Linked DNA regions of Homo sapiens: region 1 is linked to region 2. Evidence: promoter capture Hi-C in 16 types of primary human blood cells and fetal thymus (Javierre and others, 2016). All regions are on one chromosome and are shown on one strand. Each heading gives the region's core, a stretch centred on a gene start or on the middle of the fragment in contact. The rest is flanking DNA. Distances are from core to core; before and after follow the strand shown. Region 1 overlaps MIAT (myocardial infarction associated transcript). Region 2 holds the start of TOM1 (target of myb1 membrane trafficking protein).

What was found. The method cuts DNA at HindIII sites, captures the fragments that hold promoters and counts their contacts. A CHiCAGO score of 5 or more calls a contact.
Region 1: a fragment that was not itself captured here is called in contact with the fragment with the promoter of TOM1 in region 2 in 1 of 17 cell types (neutrophils); the score reaches 6.3 in neutrophils.

Annotation. Positions count from the first base shown.
Region 1 is chr22:26,667,867-26,670,829 of GRCh38, forward strand. It overlaps MIAT (myocardial infarction associated transcript), which reads left to right. Exons shown (of 5, transcript NR_033320.3): 5 at 292-2,963. Among named protein-coding and RNA genes, the nearest start is that of MIATNB, 3.5 kb to the right of the region's middle. RefSeq lists enhancers at 127-710, 711-1,293. The HindIII fragment of the contact is 9,187 bases long and covers 1-2,963 here.
Region 2 is chr22:35,298,328-35,301,276 of GRCh38, forward strand. TOM1 (target of myb1 membrane trafficking protein) reads left to right here and starts at 1,567. Exons shown (of 15, transcript NM_005488.3): 1 at 1,567-1,653. The coding sequence starts at 1,602. RefSeq lists enhancers at 1,142-1,664, 1,591-1,740, 1,665-2,187, 2,141-2,300, 2,711-2,949. The HindIII fragment of the contact is 3,434 bases long and covers 1-2,949 here.

The DNA.
Region 1 (2,963 bases), core at 410-2,909, 8.6 Mb before region 2:
CATTATGTTGCCCAGGCTGGTCTCGAACTCCTGGGCTCAAGTGATCCTCCTTCCTCAGCCTCCCAAAGTGCTGGGATTACAGGTGGGAGTCACTGTGCCTGGCCTAAGTTTCTTCTAAAAATGTTTCATGTCCAAAACCCTCACTTCCACCCTGTGTGTGTGCTGGGGGCATGAGAGACTGGGGGGATCTCTGAACATGAGTCCCCTCAGATGCAGAATTAGGCTGGGGGGATGTGGGAAGTTGGGGATGGAGGCTGTGGCCTCATCCTCACTCGCTGTCTTCTCCCCCAGGTGGCTCCATCTGGGCCGCATCTCCAGGACTCCTGGCCTGGACTTCTCTTTGGACCTCGGGTGACCTTGGATTCTGGCCACAGTGACTTAGCGGTCAGACTCCGGTGGTTTTCTAGCCCGCTGGGTGACTCCCTGAAGATCTCATCCTCTTCACACCTGTTGGGATGGAGCCTCCCATGGATAGGAACTCTTCCTGGTTGATGCTCAGCAGATGACTGATCTGGCTCTGGAGGACAGCTCCAGGGGTATGAGGGAGGCCTGGCAGCCCACTACTCCCTCCTCACCTGCTCGGGCCCTGCCTGCTGGGCCCTATTGTCTGGGTCTGGGGGCCCTTTCCTGCCCCATGTGAACTTGATTCCTCCTCGCGTTTCTGCCGGTGACCAGACAGAGCCTGGCCTGGGCCAAGTCCCCACTGACCACACTTTCCCCAAGGCTGGGTCTCAAAGGACCCTACAGGATGGGGACAGGAACAAGGATGGGAGTCGGGGAGGGGCTGTCAGGCAGAGGGCAGATGCAGCTCCTCGGGTGCCGCTGGCTGGAGTCCTTTGTCTCCATTTGCTCAGTGCGTAATTGTCATTTTGTGGGGGACTTCCTTGGTGGGGCTTTTCCATGCTTTTCCTCTCCCTGATGGTTACAAAGAGGAGACAGTCAGGATCTGGGAGGAGCTGGAGCCTTCCCCCTGTGCTGTTGAACTCTGGGAGGGGCAGCCAGAGGGGCTGAGAGTGCACCATCCTGAAAAGAGAGGGTCTTTAAGAGATAAGATTTAGGCTAGGGAAATTCACTAGAAAGAGACAGGTGGCCCTGGGTTTTTTTTCCTGCCATCCAAAGGGAACCAGTCTTACCCAAAGGCTTAAGGGGTCACCTTAGCCCAGTCTCAGGACACTCTTCTCCAATCAGATCGCTGCTTCTAGTTGCACTGCTCCTGGATTCTGTTCTTGGGGAACAGAAGGTGGCAGGACAGGCCCCACAATCTGCAATTCCAGCTCCCTCCAGAGGAGACAGTCCCAGCGTTTGCAAGAGAGCAGCTTGTGGCCTCCCTTAGGCAAGTTTAAAAGCCAGATGTCCTTTTTCCCAGAATGCGGAGTGGTGTGTACTATTCATCAGCTTGGGCTGCCACAGCACCATGCCAGACTGGATGGCTTAAACATCAGGAATTTATTTTCTGCCAGTTCTGGAGGCTGGAAAGTCCAGATCAAGGTGTTAAGACTTGGTTTCTGGTGAGGCCTCTCTCCTTGGCTTGCAGGTGGCACCTTCTCACTATGTCCTCACATGGCCTTTTCTCTGTGGAGAGGGACAGAGAGCATGAGCAGGCTCTGGTGTCTCCTCCTCTTCTTATAAAGACACTAATATCACCATATTAGGGCTTAAACCTATGACCTCATTTAACCTTAACCCCTTAAAGGTCCCATCTCCAAAAACAGTCACATAGCAGGCTACTGCTTCAACATATGCATTTGGGGGAGGGGACACCATTCAGTTCTTAACAGGGTGGTCACCGCAAACATGGAAAGTCAGAGCCTTCTCCCCTTCAGAATTCCCGCCCCCACCCAGGGATGGGGAGGAGGAGCAGAGAGGTATGGGAAGCAGACACGGAGAGTGGCAGGTACCATGCTGGGGTGGCTCAGGAGTGCTTCGGAGGACATATGGAACTGGCAGGGCTCAGTGCAGGGAGGCGGAGGCCCTGGGAGAGCCGTGTCCTGAGAAGGGCCTGGGCTACAACCCTGGGCAAGTTACTTCACCTCTGAGCCTCCGATGCTCTGTGAAATGGAAGGAATGTGCTTGCCTGTCAGGTGCAGGGAGAATTCAGTGAGATTGTGTGCCTAGCACAGTGCCTGACTCCCAGTAGGTGCTCAGCAAATGCTCCCATCCATCTGGGAGTATAGACTTAGGGTTTATCTATTTTTTTTTTTTTTTGGCTCTCTGGACTTTAAAACTCAGCATCTTCTGAACCAGAGGCATTTCTGATTAGCCCTTCCCTACCTATTTTCCTAGTATCACTCTTTAATCAGCTTGGGGAGGTGGCAGCATTTCATGGCCTCCGTAGTAACTCACAATGCTTCCTGGGGTATTTAAATTCTACTCTCTCATCAGCACTGAGCACCTACTTTGGGCCCTTTCCCGTGCTAGCCATTTGGGGGAAATATAGGTGAAGAGTGGCTGGGGTTTGAACCTTTAGGATTTCACAGCCATGCTGGATGGGATAAAACCAGCTCACATGGAGAATCAGAGAATGGGACAGTGCCACAAAACAGTCTACTGAGGCACAAGTTCTGAGTGCCTGGGAAGTGGTAGAGAGACCCCAGAGAGGGCTGCTGCAGTCTGGAACAGCTTCCTAGCAAGCTGTACCAAACAGGGCCTTGAAGGATGAGAAAGATCTGGCTGAGATGATACCCGACCCTCTAGGGAAATTCTTAAAGTAACTTCTAGGAAATGTCATTGCTCCTTAAAAAAAAAAAAAAAAAAAAAAAAGCAGGTTCTAATTCAAATTCCGCTGCACTACTGAAGTAGTGCAGGACTTATCAGAACCTTTAAAATGCTAATGGCAATTTCAAATACTCAGGGACAGGGCATAGGATGAAGTGTTCCTTGACTTTTATGGCCGTAGAATCTTTTTCTCATGGAACATCGTTTAGAACTGTGGGAGATGCTAGGCTGGGGTTTCTATGGGAAAA
Region 2 (2,949 bases), core at 317-2,816:
TGTTGTGGAAACACTTCAAAGCAGTTTTTATATTGTACAGTAAAGACATCGGACCCCATGGCTGCTCAAACAAGTGAATCTACAGAGGTGATTAAGTTCTAATTTAGGTTTGTTTTTTTTTTTAAGACACAGCCTTACTCTGTCACCCAGGCTGGAGTGCAGTGGCACGATCTCAGCTCACTGCAATCTCTGCCCCCCTGGGTCCAAGCAATTCTCATGCCTCAGCCTCCCAAGTAGCTGGGACTACAGGCGTGTACCACCACACCTGGCTAATTTTTGTATTTTTAGTAGAGACGGCATTTTACCATGTTGGCTAGGCTTGTTTTGAATGCCTGACCTCAGGTGATCCACCTGCCTCAGCCTCCCAAAATGTTGGGATTACAGGCGTGAGCCACCACACCTTGCTTAATTTAGGTTTTCTGTCATCCAAAATTTGTGCAGTCAATTTACTAGCCTTTCAGATTTAAAAACCACAAACATCACAATAAGTACTTAAGCACCCACAGTAGCCAGACTACTAAGGCCATGGTTATTGTATTTTTGGAGTACATGCCAGAAGAAAAGGTCATAACCCATAGATAGGTATCTAGTGTGTAGGTGTCAGCAGACACACCACACACAGCCAGGAAGGCTGAAGAGATTAGAATCACAACGCTGGGAAAGGCCTTTGAGATTCTTAGCTTGGGGTCCACGGTTGTACTTCAGGGACCCCAGAAACTCCCTGAGGTTATAAGCAAAATTGTATCGCTGCCTTTTTTCTTCAGAAAGGCTCATGGCTTTTGTCAAATTCTCAAAGGAGACTGTGACCTAAATAAAATATTTTTTAAAAATGGTTACGAGTCCTTGATCTAATTCCAGTATCTAGAGAAAATGGGAGCTATGTTTGGCTCACACAGTAAATTTATGGCAGAGACGGGTATTAAAGCCCCACTCGTGACTACATCTGTGCTTTTTGCCATCCTGGGCGCTAGAGGGAATTGCGCTGCAATTCATTAAATTGCCTCTCAGTCTCAACAGATGACAAACCCCTTGCCCTTGCCTCTGATTTAAGGTAAGATAATTTGGGCTGCGAGCAGGGTGCATCTTGGAGCGGGGAGACCTTGACATCAAACAGGAAGAGTCTTACCGGGACAAGGAGACAACAGCCCAGAGAGGCTGTCACCCAGGGTAGGTGTGCAGTCACAGTGAGGTCCCAAGGACTAAGGGCTATGACCCTAAGAGTCTCGGCTTCTGTGTAACTCACCCAAGTCACTTCCCTGGTCTACGACCCAGTTTCCCAAATGTGTAAAGGGTCCTTTAGACCTCGCCCTAAAAGGTCAGGGGCGTGGCTTAAAGAGGACCGCGCTTCCCGGGCCCCGACCCCAGACCCTACATCGTGTGTGACGCCCGCCGCCGCCGAGCAAGCCGCAGTGAGGTCATCGCCCTCCGCCTCGGGGGCGGGACCCTGGCGTCTCAGGGCGGGGCTTGTGGTCGAGCTTCGCGGTGCCACCGCCCCGCCCACGCCTCCTCGCCGGCCTCCGAGTGCGTCACGTGACGGGTCGGTGGCGCTGGCGGTTGCTGTCAGCTGATTCCCGGGGTTGGTGGCAGCGGCGGTAGCAGCAATGGACTTTCTCCTGGGGAACCCGTTCAGCTCTCCAGTGGGACAGCGCATCGGTGAGTCCCTGGAGCCCCCCACAGCTCCGCCCCGGTGCTCCGCACCCAGCTTCGGTCCCCTGGGAAGCCTCCGGGTGCCTAGTCACGGAGGCAGGGAGGGCAAGGAGGCTGGCGTGTAGCTCTCCGACCTGGCTCCGCCCAGCTTTCCTCCCACTCTTGATTGACAAGAACTTGGGCCATTAGGAAGCCTTGGCTTGTGATAGATGTATATGACAGCCAGTAGGTAAGGAGAGAGGGTGGGTCCGGATGCCCACGGCGCAGCCAATGTGCGTCTGCTGGGGTCCCCAATCGAGGGAGAAAGTTTTCGTGGTTAAAGGGACTGCGTGGTTGGCAGTGGCTGGGCCACTCTGCTGGGTCCCGCCGCCTGGGCTCTGGCCAGCTCCTTCCTGGCTCACCGGGCCCTCCGGACACAGACACCTGAGAAGGGCTAGAAGTCCCTTCTCCCAGGACCGCGAAGCCCCGGGCTTGGCGTCTTGGGGCCAACTGGCCAGAGGGGCCCAGCGCCGGACAGCCCGCGGCCAGGCCTCACAGACCCGGGTCTCAGGACGTGTCCGCCTGGGCTCTTTTCTCGACCCAACCTCAAATGGACCCGCACAGACTCTCAGAACCTGAGCAGACAGTGGTCGGACAAACCCTCCTGGTCAGCCCATCTCGGTGCTCCGTAGGTGGGGCAGCCGGGAACTCGGGCCAAGCCAAGCCCAGGGCACCTGGCGCCTGTCTGCTGGTCCGTGGTTCTCTGCACCCTGGTGACAGGATACTCACAGTTCTGTGACGCAGCCTCCCTGGGCCGAGGTTTCCTCACCTGTAGTTGGCGGGCAATAATGGTCCCCACCTCCGTGGGCTTGTTGTGAAGATTAAATTCCTTAATAAATGTGAAATACTTAGAACAATGCCTGGTACATGGCCAGTGCCATATAAAAAAAAACAGTTGTAATATTTATTATCACTGGGCTGGGCACGGTGGCTCCCGCCTGTAATCCCAGCACTTTGGGAGGCCAAGGCGGGCAGATCGCTTGAGCCCAGGAGTTCGAGACCAGCCTGGGCAACATGGCGAGACCCCGTCTCTACAAAAAAAAAAAAAAAAAAAAATACAGAAATTAGCCGGGCGTGGTGGTGCGTGCCTGTGCACCCAGCCACTCGGTAGGCAGAGCTGGGAGGATTTATTGGATCTGGGAGGTCAGGGCTGCAGTGAGCCCTGATGGCGCCACTGTACTCCAGCCTGGACGACGCAGGGAGAGCCCATCTCTTGAAACACATACACATACACACACACACACGCACACATATATATAAAAA